Regions from separate parts of the Homo sapiens genome. Here region 1 is linked to region 2. Evidence: promoter capture Hi-C in 16 types of primary human blood cells and fetal thymus (Javierre and others, 2016). All regions are on one chromosome and are shown on one strand. The core of a region is centred on a gene start or on the middle of the fragment in contact, and the rest is flanking DNA. Distances in the headings are between cores, read along the strand shown. Region 1 overlaps ARNT2 (aryl hydrocarbon receptor nuclear translocator 2). Region 2 holds the start of ABHD17C (abhydrolase domain containing 17C, depalmitoylase).

What was found. Contacts are between HindIII fragments. The CHiCAGO score rates a contact against its expected background, and 5 or more counts as called.
Region 1: a fragment that was not itself captured here is called in contact with the fragment with the promoter of ABHD17C in region 2 in 1 of 17 cell types (M0 macrophages); the score reaches 5.1 in M0 macrophages.

What each region holds. Positions count from the first base shown.
Region 1 is chr15:80,459,966-80,466,533 of GRCh38, forward strand. The region is part of intron 3 of ARNT2 (aryl hydrocarbon receptor nuclear translocator 2); the gene reads left to right. Among named protein-coding and RNA genes, the nearest start is that of ARNT2, 59 kb to the left of the region's middle. The HindIII fragment of the contact is 2,444 bases long and covers 2,953-5,396 here.
Region 2 is chr15:80,693,114-80,699,327 of GRCh38, forward strand. ABHD17C (abhydrolase domain containing 17C, depalmitoylase) reads left to right here and starts at 2,197. Exons shown (of 3, transcript NM_021214.2): 1 at 2,197-2,906. The coding sequence starts at 2,317. RefSeq lists silencers at 915-1,209, 1,671-1,830, 1,851-1,960, 1,981-2,400, 2,491-2,540 and 1 more and an enhancer at 2,731-2,800. The HindIII fragment of the contact is 4,321 bases long and covers 422-4,742 here.

The DNA of each region.
Region 1 (6,568 bases), core at 2,925-5,424, 230 kb before region 2:
TCCACTTTGCAGTGACTGTGGCTGCTGTCCAGGGGAGGAGTGGAGAATCTGCTTCCAATTGGCATGGAACACCCCAGTGCCTCTCCTGTTGGCTTTTTCTCTTCTTACAATCAGGCAACAGAAGCCCCTTCATGTGAGGCCCTGGAAGAGATAGAGGCTGCCTTGTGAGCCAGCACCCACCGTAGTTTGCTGACTCAGAATCTAGGCAGGGTGCTGTGCCATGGTTTCTGTCTCCTGTGTGTGTGCCATCAGCTTTTCCAGCTTTTTGCAAGGGGGCTTCCCAGTTTAAATGTCCTGCCTATCATGAGACCTCATGTCTCAATTTTTGATTTGGGAAGTGTGGTCACAGTCACAAAGCAGCTCAATTATAGGAATTTGATATGGTTCCTACTTTAGCACAGCCAGGCCCATCACAGCAGGCCTTAGATGCAACAAAGTAGTAGATGTGAAGCTGCCACTGCTGTGTGACCTCAGGTGCACACACAAGCACGCACATGCACACGCCCATACGTGCATAGGCATTCCAGGATCCCGCCTGCCAGTGCCATAAATGTTCTCAGGCCCGCTCCACCACATCCCAAGGCCTCAGCTCTTTCTCACACATGGGATTCATGCCATTCGGGGAGCTGTGATATGCAGAACATGGCTCTGCCTACATTCGAAGTTTCCTTCCCCCCACACAAAGTCACGGGGACCCGGGGGACAGAAGCCAGACTGCAGTGGGCTGAGGACTGATGGGGAGATGAAGACATGAAGATGCGTGAGAACAACTCTTTGAGCAGTTTGGATGTAGATCAAAAAGGAAGGGGCTCCGGGAGGGGTACTTTTTAAGGATGAGTACATCCATGTGAGGAGGAGAAGTAATGGGGATAGCCAGAGATTTGGAAGACTCAGGAGTGACGCTGGGGAGAGATGGGTCCAGAGGAGGAGGAGAGAGCTCTGCCCCACAGAAGGGAGTACTCATGCTCCAAGGCAGAAGGAAGGAGCTGCAGGTGAGGCCAAGTGCGAGGCTGTGGGTGCATCAGAAGTGGAGGGATTAATTCTCGTGGCTTCCATTGTCTTGATTAGGTAGGAAATGGGGCTGTGTGCCGCAGGTGGGAAGAGGTTTGCTATTGTGCCTGAGAGCGAAGTTTAGGGTGGCCCTGGGTTGAATTCACAGGAAGGAGGCTAACCGAAGACAGAGATGTAAAAACTTTAGACCCCATTTGAGATTGTGGACCACCAATGTGAGGTGGCATCAATGTGTATAAGTGCAATTTCCCTCCAGCAATACCCAACGGTGTGGATACAGGGAATGGAGGCTTTTCTCAGACTCAGGGTTGAGGATTAGGGCAGGTGCCATGGAAGGACAGGAGTCGAGGTGGTTAAGGTCTCAATGAGAGGGTGGTTGAAGAGGCCAAGCTGTGGGTCCAATGGCAGAGGGAGTGAAGGGAGGCCGGCAGGCCGGAGGAGTGAGAAGAGAATGGAGGAGGCCGGGGACGGGAAGTAGCAATGCGGTCAAAGAATAGTTCTGATTTTGTGGGAGTTTGAGAGGGCTGGAAAAGTAGGAAGTTGTGGTCAAATAGTGAGAAGCCACCACCATGGGAGAGGCTGGCCGAGGTCCAGTAGAGGAGGCCGAGGTCAGTCCTGGGAGCAGAGGCATGGGGAGACAGATGGGTGGGTGTGCATCACCCCCTGCAGAGGCTGTCTTGGGGGTGGTCTGGGGGCAGGGGCTGGCTGGCTGTGTGGGTGGGCAGTGGTGATGATGATGCAGAGCCTAGAAGGTGGCAGAGACGGATGGCACGAGTTTCAGAGGAGGAGGCCTTTCTGCCAAGGAGGCAAAAAGGAGTGAAGTCGCAGAGCCAGCCTTTCTTCCTGGGCTCAGCCAAGAAAGCAGCCTCCACTGGGAATGCTTGGCTTGACCTCACTCTTGGAATTCCAGTTATCAAGTCACTGATCCTAACAGCAGGTGGTGATAAACCCTGTGTCTTTGGAAAAATGCCGATTACACTCCAGCAAGTGTTTCTCCAAAGATGATCCTCCCGGGCAGCTGGTAGTGGTGCCGCACCCTCCTATAGTGAGGTCGGCACCAGTCCCTCCCTGGTTCCTGTGCCTGTGTGGATGGCCCTGGTGTGCCTGGGAGGCAGATGCCAGTCCTGCCCAGCACGTCCTGCAACCTCACACTCAAGCAGAGGGCCAAAGCCTTTTCATCACTCTGAGTGGTTCAGGGGCATCTTCCTACTTTAATGGACCCTTAGATTGATACATTTTCTAGGGAGTTCCAGGACACCTTCTCATACCGGCAGCTGGGGTCAGCTGCCACCAGTACATGGAGGCATCTTAAATATTGTTTCATAAGGGGCATTACTAACATCCCAGAGCTGTCATCAACAGAGTCAAAATTATACACCGTGCTCATCGTGTGCCTTACGTATGTGAATGTATGCGTAATGTGTCATTAAAACAAAAGAGAGGAAACATTCCTAATGTAACTGTCTTTTTGTTACATTTACAACTTGGGGACAAACAAGCATGCAGTCCTCAAACTTTAATTCTTGCCACTGTGTATTATCTGTATATTTTTGCTCCCTTCAGACTCATTCCACACCCTTTCTCAAAAGACCCTAAAGGCCTTCCAAGGAGTTCTCGTATCTGTTGCTGTGGATTCAGCTCCAGTGCTTGGAGCCTCCTAAGAGCTCGGACTCAAAATCCCTTATCAAGGGGCTTCCTGGCCTCTCTTTAACCTTTTTAGAAATGGCTGCAAGTGACCCCATTGGCTGCTCTTTGGTGAGATTGTAGCACCCAGTTGCACCAGTCCAACATTGTGCCTTATATTTTGTAGAGTTAGCCAGTGAACCTCTAAAGTTATCTAAAAGTAAAGATATTCACGGTAGGAAAGCTTCTGCAGAATTGACCTTTTGTTTCTCATCACGTCCATTTTGGTACTTCCCTTTTGGTTTTGTGTGGTATTTAAGCTTGTAGGCATTTTCCCCCCTGGCTTTATAGGTTGTGGTGATGTTTTAGTTTTAATCATTCCTGCTTTGTGAGTAGGTATCATGACCAAAACTCTGTTGATAAGGAAAATATGCAAGGTAGACGTGTCCTGCAGAGGTCTTTCCCGGCAGAAAGAAAAGAAGATTGTGGGTTTCCAGAATTCTTAGTCTGAGCGTCTTAGCCTAGAGAGTGGGTTACTCTGTTTCCAAGTGAGAAGACGCCTAAAGTATTTCCAAGGCAGAGAGGATGACCAGGCAGCAGCAAGGAGTGCCCCTTTTTTTATCTGGCCTCATCTTATCAGTTACCATGTGTGGGACACACTGGATGGGTACGTGAGGTCCTTGTAAGGCAGGAAGAGATTCAGCCGAGCCTTTCAGAGGTTGCAGAGCAAACGCCAAGAGGAGCCCTTCCAAACTTCCCATGCCTCCTCCCTGCCTCTACAGTCTCAGTTCATATGAACCAGACAAGTGTTGCAGATAAGCTGGGTAGAATTTGGTACAGTGTTGCTTATGAGCAACTAAAGTTGCTTCAGTGGGTTAGGGTTAGGGTTAGGGTTAGGGTTAGCACACACTGGAATGAAAGATTTTGTAGGAGGGGTGGCTTTCTAACACCATGCTGATATGGATGGGTGATTTCCTTTTTTTTTTTTTTTTTTTTGAGACGGAGTTTTGCTCTTGTTGCCCAAGCTGGAGTGCAATGGCGCGGTCTCGGTTCACTGCAATGTCTGCCTCCTGGGTTCAAGCAATTCTCCTGCCTCAGCCTCCGGAGTAGCTGGGATTACAGGTGTGCACCACCGCGCCCGGCTAATTTTTTGTATTTTTTGTAGAGACAGGGTTTCACCATGTTGGCCAGGCTGGCCAACCTCAGGTGATCCGCCTGCCTTGGCCTCCCAAAGTGCTGGGATTATAGGTGTGAGCCACTGTGCCCAGCCAGTGTGATTTCTTCATACAAGATGTTTGGCTCTCACATGATGGACCTGCACCTTGATGTGTTTCTTACCATGTTTAGCTATGCTACCCGCTTCAGTTTTTCTGCTGGAGAGATTAACCCTGATTTGAAATGATAGTGCCTGGATAACACTAGAGTTTTTTGGAGAGAGAGGAGGAAATCACTTCTGGGATCATAAGCAGTCCTGAGCTGTGTCTCTTTGGAAGCTGCTAGGCATATTCTTCCCCCATAAAGCCTTAAATATCTTTGCTCCCTAGTCTCTCCGGGCATTCTAGCTCTGAACTAGGACCAGTTAGTGCTCTGTTGGGGAGAGGTGGTGAGAGAGAGGCAGCAGGTGACTGGCAGGCCTGTTCCCAGTCCTGGTAAGTCAGTGTGACCCTTGGAGCCTCAGCTTCCTCCTCTGGGGAAAGGAGATACATCCCGATTGGGGGCTGGGGGTGGGGGGTTGCAAGGATCGATTGCAGTCAGTGCTGAGAGAGTGCTTGGGAAGCTGTAAGTTGCTATAGAAACATGCAAGATGTGTGTCTCACTGGGAACAGGGATTGTCAGAGGTGCCGGGCCTGGGTCCCTGCTTGGGAGGATCTGGGCTTCTCAGACTCCTCCCTGTGTTTTGGGTGAGTCTTGCATTCAGCCTGGACACACAGGTATCTTGTAGTTGCCTTGCAGAAACCTGGGCCTTGGATGGCTTCTGGGGAGCAGGATGCCTACCTCCTTCTCAAGGAGAGAGCAACCCTCTGCCCTTCCTGGAGCAGCCTCAGAAGCTGGGAAAACTGCCTTACTGAATATGCCTCAGTGGGCCCTCTCTGCAGGTATCTGACCAGCCTCCATGGGGCTCCTGAAATGGCTTTCTTCTGGCCTTCATGGCTCTTACAATGCCCTGCAGCATGCCTGGGAGCGACTGGCCATGAAGGATGTTCCTGGAAAGGTACAGTCTTCCTTCCCGAGTGTCACCGAGGTGGGGCAGAGCCAGTCTGTGCCTAATACTGCACCAGAGGCTCCTGACAGCTGACCAGGACTCATGTGTAGACCCCCACGCAGCCACTCTTGGTCTGATGACTCCCCCAGGCTACCTCTGAAGGCCAGGTGGTATGAGCCTATGCAAAGGGTCTCTTCCTACAGTTCTGACTCTACCCTAACTGGTCAAATCTCACAGAGAAATCCCTAGTAGGGGAAGACGGGGATTGATGCTTCCTTTGCTTGAGAAGTGCTGAAGCCCTTTACTGGAATTGCAGGCAGAAAGCCTTGTTTGTTCAGTAACTTGAGCCATGCACAGTTTGGTGAATTGTCCAAGAGCAGAGGTTATCACTGTGTGCTGGGTGAATTCTGAAAAGGAAAAAACTCCTGGTGTCTGGTCTTCCAGTTCTAGTGCAATCTGGGGAAATGAGCACAAATTCTGCCCTGAGTGAGGCCTGTTTCCAAGCCCGATGGCTTTGAGAGTGGCAGCTGCTTGGTGATGCTTCTCCAGGTTGGGGAGAAGCTTTATGTTTATTTTCAGCAGGTCTGTTGTTTGGACTGCTGTGGCCTGGAGAGGGGTGTGGACCTCAGGAGGTAGAAATGGAAGCTGAGGCATCATGGAGAAATGTGGTCCTGGTGCCATCTGCAGCAGGGCTGCTCTACAGACATTCCACGTGTGTAGAGCTTCATGTAGCTCTGAAGCTGGCAGTGAGGTGTAGTGACCAGTCGTATTATTTCAAGTGCTGACTTCTCAGATTTGGACCATGGCAGTGTAGGTGGCCTGGCTAGAGCTAGACTTGGTCATATCTCTCTCATAGTATCCTGCATCAGCCCACCTGCTGCCTTGAGGTGCCCACACCTGATCACCCTGACATGAGCAAAGAGGAGGCTGCAGAAGCACTTAGGTTTATGTCGTGGCTCCTCTCAGCCAGGCCTGCGTGGGGACTTTCAGTGTCCCATGTCCTAGGGTTCCTGGGTATTTCCTGGGACTTTTTCACAGGGAGCTCTCCCCATCGCACACTCTCAGCATCCTCTTCTGACCTTTTAGTGTACAAGGAAACCACACAGGGATTGTGTTTGCACCTGCTCACTCTCTGTTGCCCCTGCTTTTCCGTGGGCTCTCTGTCCTGTCCAGCACCCGTCTCCAGTACCCAGCACAGTAACTCCCAGACTGGAAGTATGCTCCAGGTATACCATGTCTGCAGTGATCAGGGAGTTCCCAGCATGGGGCTGTCTCATTCAGTCTGCTTGCTCCGGGTCTAAGGTTCCCTTCCCATAGCAGACAGGAGACTCAACGGCTGTCAGCAGTTTAAGGATGCTCTTTATTGAGATCTTATAAAATTCTCCTTTCGTATTCTTTAACTAAGATGGGTACCTCACCGTTCAGATTAAACTTAGGAGGTCCCCATCAGGAACAGAGTTGGAAAAGAAACACAAGTCAGTGTGCAGTTAGTTGAACCTCTTCTTTCTGTGCCTTGATTTCCATAGCTGTGCTCCTGGAGCCAAGCTCTGGGTCCTCTTAGCACAGCAGAGGTGTCTTTGAAACTGACAGCTCTACCTGTGTCCCCAACTGTCAATTCTGTGGAGTCCTGGTCCTGCTTCCCTGTACATAGGAGTTAATTTCTTTATTGATGCTACTCAGCCCCGAGCAAGCATGTGGTACACACGCAAGTCACAGACACCAGGTTCACAG
Region 2 (6,214 bases), core at 947-3,446:
ACCTTGGTAGCTGTAGCACCTAACACAGTGGATGCTGTGAGCACAAAAAACATTACATACATAAATGCTGAATACAATAAAGTGACCAAAGTATACCAATGTGTAGCAAGTTAGAAAGCCTTTTTATTTTTTTGAGACATAGTCTCACTCTGTCACCCAGGCTGGAGTGCAGTGGCATGATCTCGGCTCACCGTAACCTCTGCCTCCTAGCTTCAAGTGATTCTCGTGCCTCAGCCTCCTGAGTAGCCGGGATTGTAGGTGCACGCCACCATGGCCGGCTAATTTTTGTATTTTCAGTAGAGACGGAGTTTCATTATGTTGGCCAGGCTGGTCTTGAACTTCTGACTTGAAGTGATCCACCCTCCTCAGCCTCCCAAAGTGGTGGGATTACAGGCGTGAGTCACTGTGCCCAGCTGTATAAAGCTTTTTTTTCTTTTTAAAGGATTTTCGCAGAAAAATTCTTTTTTTAAAAAAAAAAAAAAAAAAAAGGAAATGCAAACCTGCAAAGCTAGAATTGGGCTTTATGTGAAGAGTTTCACCAAGTGTGAAAACCTTCAAAACAGACTTCAAATATGCAATCTGGACAGGCTTTGTTACCAGGTTTTTAAAAATCAAGTTTGAATAGTTCAAAAACAAGTAAAATTGTTTTAGTGAAGAAATGGCCTTTTAAAACCCAGGTCCTAGCTGGGCAAGGTGGCATGTGCCGGTAGTCCTAGCTACTTGGGAGGCAGGCCGGAGGGTCATTTGAGCCCAGGAGTTGGGAGTCCAGCCTGGACAATACAGTAAGACCCTGTCTCTTAAAAAAGAAAAAATTAAAAGCGAGGTCCTGAAGGTTAATGAAATCAGTATCGGCAATTCATTTAGATGACGGTGCTCAAAATATTCGTCCTGTGGAAAGTCACAACGAAAGGTAAAATTCTCAGGACATCTGTGAGTTAAAACAACAGACCCAGCGTAGGGATTGTGCCAACCTCCCAGTCTCTAGCTGCCCTGCTGGCAGTCCAGGAAGGGTATCTCCTGTCAGTTCCTGAAAGGGAATTCTTCAGCTGCCAAATCAGGCGGGAAAAAGGAAGTATAGAAGGCTCTGTGGAAACTGGCACCAGAGCACAGTTTCAAGGCACCGAGAGTTATATTTGAAAAATCATGTAAAGGTGGCTGCCAAGATTACAGTAGATTTAAAGCAGTATAAGAATCGTTCATGACTAAGACCACTGAAAAATCCTGGACCCAAAACAACTCTAGAGACACAAACACTGTAAACGATACCTAGTATATACTTACTACCGGAAAATCTGCCACACGTGGGATTAGAAATGACAACCTCAACATGGTTTGTTGCTAAATACAGTACCCTCCTGTTCTAACAGCTGACTTTTATAGATACAGAAATGTACTAAGGGTAAAACCATGCCCTTAGAAAGGAAACGCTGTTGCTACCTATACAGAAACAGCCTCTCCTAATAAGAAACACACTGATGACCACCCTATCCCACAACCCCGGTACCCCTTACGGTGCTGAGAACTTTTGGTACTGAGCCAGTTCAGAAAGCAGCACACACGAGAGCCAAATATTTCGGGCACATTCCAACTCTTGTCCACCCCTTAGTTTCCTTTTCAGTAGACTCCCAAGAACCTCCATCCACGGGAGAAACCTGGATTTGGGGGAGGGAATCCCAGGGGGAGGGGAGGGGAGCGGTCCACCCCGGGACACATGCACCCCCTCCAGGGTCCCCTCTGCAGATCGGCCCAGCTGTCCGGGCGCAGAGCCCCCAGCCCCGGCACCCAGCTTCTCCGGGCCCCGGAGCCGCCTGGAAGCCCCCGTCGGCCGCAGGTCGAGAAGGTGCTTCCCAGGCCGGGGAAGGTGCCCGCGCCCTTGCCCGCAGCGCCCCGCCCCGATGCCCGGCTCTGCGCCGCGTCCCAGCGGCGGCGCCGCCGCGCGGTAACCCGGAAGTGGCGGCGGCGGCGGCGGCGGCGGCGGGCGTGCGGGAGCGGGAACGGGAGCGGGGGGCGGCGCGCACGAGCCGGCCATGGACGCCGCCGCCGGCTTTGTGTGCCGCGCGCGGGCCCGGGCCGCCCGCGCCTCGCCTGGGTTCCGGGGCCGCCGCTGACCCGCCCGGGCTCCGAGCGCCGCGCCCGCCGGGCCGGCCCCGCCTCCTGCCCTCCTCCGCCTCCGCCTCCTCCTGCCGCCGGGCGGGCGGGCTGCAGCCGCCCTCCGCGCTCGCCTGCCAGCTCCCTCGCCGCGCGTCCGTCCTCCGTCCTCCCGGGCCAGCCAGCCAGCCAGCCAGCCGGGCCGGCGGCGGGCACCAGGCCGTCCCGATGCCCGAGCCAGGCCCCAGGATGAACGGCTTCTCGCTGGGTGAGCTGTGCTGGCTCTTCTGCTGCCCGCCCTGCCCGAGCCGCATCGCCGCCAAGCTGGCCTTCCTGCCGCCCGAGCCCACCTACACGGTGCTGGCGCCGGAGCAGCGCGGCGCCGGCGCGTCCGCCCCGGCCCCGGCCCAGGCTACCGCCGCCGCCGCCGCGGCCCAGCCGGCACCGCAGCAGCCCGAGGAGGGCGCGGGCGCGGGGCCCGGTGCGTGCAGCCTGCACCTCAGCGAGCGCGCCGACTGGCAGTACTCGCAGCGCGAGCTGGACGCCGTCGAGGTCTTCTTCTCGCGCACGGCCCGGGACAACCGGCTCGGCTGCATGTTCGTGCGCTGCGCGCCCTCCAGCCGCTACACGCTGCTCTTCTCGCACGGCAACGCCGTGGACCTGGGCCAGATGTGCAGCTTCTACATTGGCCTCGGCTCCCGCATCAACTGCAACATCTTCTCCTACGACTACTCGGGATACGGCGTCAGCTCGGGCAAGCCCTCCGAGAAGAACCTCTACGCCGACATCGACGCCGCGTGGCAGGCGCTGCGCACCCGGTGAGCCTGCCGGGGTCGCCAGGCCTGACTTCCAGCTGTGGGGAGGCGGGGTGGGGGTCTCTTGGGGCCCCTGGGGCGGCCTGCCAGGAGAGGGGCCCCTCCTCCGGGGCTGAGGGCCAGCGGAGAGCCCCTTGGCCGCCGTAAATTCGCTTTTCTTGTCCCACCCTGGCTTGCTCCCACCCTCTCCAAAAACCGCGCCAGCCTTCAGGTTCCTGGAGAGCTCGGACTCAGAGAATTTTGCCTGCTTTGGCTCGCCTGTGTGTCGCCGGCCCACCGGCTGGGTCTTTTGTGGCTCCGGTCACCGCGAGTGGCAGAGTGTGGGTGCTTAAGTACCGGGCAGAAAGAAACAACTTGGTTCGAGTTTCGTTTGTACGAGCTGAAGTGACCTTGGGCAAGGCACATGGGTTTCTAGACTCAGTTTCCTTCCCTGTAAAGTCAGTGGGCGAGACAGGATGGCCTCTAAAAGACTTTCTGGTTGTAAAGTGCGGGCAGGACAATGTCTGGGCAACCTTGGAAACAGCTGGAGCGTCAGGTGGAGCGGGGAGTTTGCCTCCTGGTGGGGCAAAGTAGTGGCACTGTGGGGCAGGAAGTTAGCTGGTAGCTGTGGGCCTGGCACCTTCCACACGGCCTCCATAACAGTCCAGGATAAGTTTGAAACTTGCAGGGGCTGGGAAATCTCTGACCTTAAATTAGCATTCACAGAAGGACTGAAAAGTGTTTAGGGTGGGCCATCTGTGAGCCAGGCACAAACTGGGGGCATGGTTTAGGGGTTAGACCTGGTTGTTTTATAACAAGCAAACCAAAAACCTGACTTTTATTCACTATTAGACAAAAGTCTTATACATGTGCAGGTCAGGTTACCTGTTTGTGCTCCAGTTTGGGTATCTGTGACCTTTCCGACCTGCCTCATAGCAGTGATGGTGAAAATAACCTGAGGCCATGTCTATGATGAGATTTGATTTCTTCAGATGAAAGAGTCCCCAGAGGAAGTACACCGGGCATTATTGTCGCCATGGACCCTTCTATAGTTTTTATCTAAAACCTGTTTGCTTATGCACATCACCAACGTTAATGATTTTTTTTTTTCATTCGTACTCACGCATATGTTCCTAAGTGACTCCTTGCCTGTCTGGGAAAATGGCTTGTCCAACAGGGAAGTACTTAATATTTGCTCTATGTTGCATGTTTATGCCCTCCTGAAGTCCTGAAGGGGATGCCCTCATTGGGATTATAGCTTTTCGAAAGTGGCTTAGGCAGATGAGAATGTATCATATGCAGATGCATTGGGTCAGAGTCTGTAAGTAGTTAAAAGCCACCTGTTCCAGTAAAGGGTTTCAAAAGTATGTGTCACACACAGTCTATAGCTTGCTAGAATTTGCTGTTGGCAAAGGTATTAAAAATAAGGTTGGCATTAGATCTTTAAAATTTGAAACATGAAAATCCTACCTTGAGTAGATTTTTTAATTGAAGAGTTTCCATAGAACATTGCTTCTGTGTGTGCATGTCCACATTACAATGAAAGCCTTTCACATGGCTCACCCTTTGCCCCAAATATACAGGTGTGTCTGTGTTACAGCTTACGTGGAGTGTAGTTATTTCCTGGAAACTTTTTTTTTTTTGGTCATATTTAGTTGAATTAAGGGGCGTTGTTTTGGATAATGTTGAATTATCTGATAGTGTATCAGTTGAATTAAGGGTAATTGTTTCGGATAACTTTGAATTATCTGATGGTATGTCTAAAGATTGCCCATGATTTATTTAATGTTATACCAGAACTCATATCTAAGTTAATTTATTCACCTGTAAAAAAGGTTAGAATTTGAAGGCTGCATGCGAAGCTTAGAATTTGAAGGAACCTTATAGATCCTCATGTCTTGTGCTTTTCAAACTGTTTTGACTGTAACCTCACAGTAAGAAACACATTTTACGTTTTGATCAAGCACACATACACGTCTGTATCCACATACCTGAAGCCAATGCTTCACAAAACAGTAATTTTTCTATGGGCAGCACACATAGCAGAATATGTTGTTTTATTTCACTTTTTTTTTTTTTTTTTTTTTGAGACGGAGTCTTGCTCTGTCGCCCAGGCTGGAGTGCAGTGGCGCCATCTTGGCTCACTGTAAGCTCCACCTCCCGGGTTCACGCCATTCTCCTACCTCAGCCTCCCGAGTAGCTGGGACTACAGGCGCCCGCCACCGCGTCCGGCTAATTTTTTGTATTTTTAGTAGAGACGGGGTTTCACCGTGTTAGCCAGGATGGTCTCGACCTCCTGACCTCATAATCCGCCCACCTGGGACTCCCAAAGTGCTGGGATTACAGGCGTGAGCCACCGCGCCTGGCCTATTTCACTTTTATAAAAAAGAAAAAAAAAGATGGTTGTGAATTGCTAAATTTATTTCCCAACTCATGTATGGACACTGCACACGTTCACCCAGCTCATCTGACAGGAGGATAGACTGGCGGCAAATCAGCAGTAGGTCTCTTGACTACCAGTTTAGTACTCTTGCGAGGGCACCATTGCCACGGTAAGCATATTTATCAGATTCTTCAGGAGGTGCATTTGTGTGTCTTGGTTATTCTGCTGACATAAGAGTTACCTAATTCTGAAGCCAATCAGCCCCTCAACCACTTTCCTCTTGCTGTTCAGTATGGTTCTTCTGCTCTTACTTGCCTGGAGCAAGTTCTTATGCTATTCTCTCTTCTTTTACAGCTTAATTCATGTCAGTGCCATGGCAGGAATGCCTTCCATCCCATGTGTCCATTCTTCTGTTACTGGGTCAGACTCTGTTTTCCACCAGCCATCCCCCATGTCTTCTTTGGGAATCTTTATCTTTCCTGCCCTCCTAGTTAACCACACTCCCCAGGACACTGATTGGAGAGCTTGCCTTGTTCTGAGTCATCTTCATCTCTGTACTTAGATTATTCCCCCAGGAGGACTGTAAGGTGCAGTGCCCTGCAGGCCCCAAAGCCCCACACTCAGGACTTTGCCCCACTCTTCTGCTCACATCGTCTTTTGTATCTGCCCTTCTCCTGTGCTAGGAACAATGGATCCTGACTGGATCTTAATTGGATTAGGAGACCCTTTGTGTTCCCTGTGCACCTGGTACTCAGCCCCTTTGCTTGAGTTATCACAGTGTTGCTGTATCTGTTATTTAACTGTATCTCCACTAAATTGGAAGATCTCTGAGGGCAGGGACACTATGTCTTCTCTATTCCTGACAGTTGGCAAAATGTCTTAAAATAATAGGTAGTCATTGGTATTTGTTGAACGAATTGCACATAATGGGCGCCCCATAAATAAGTGG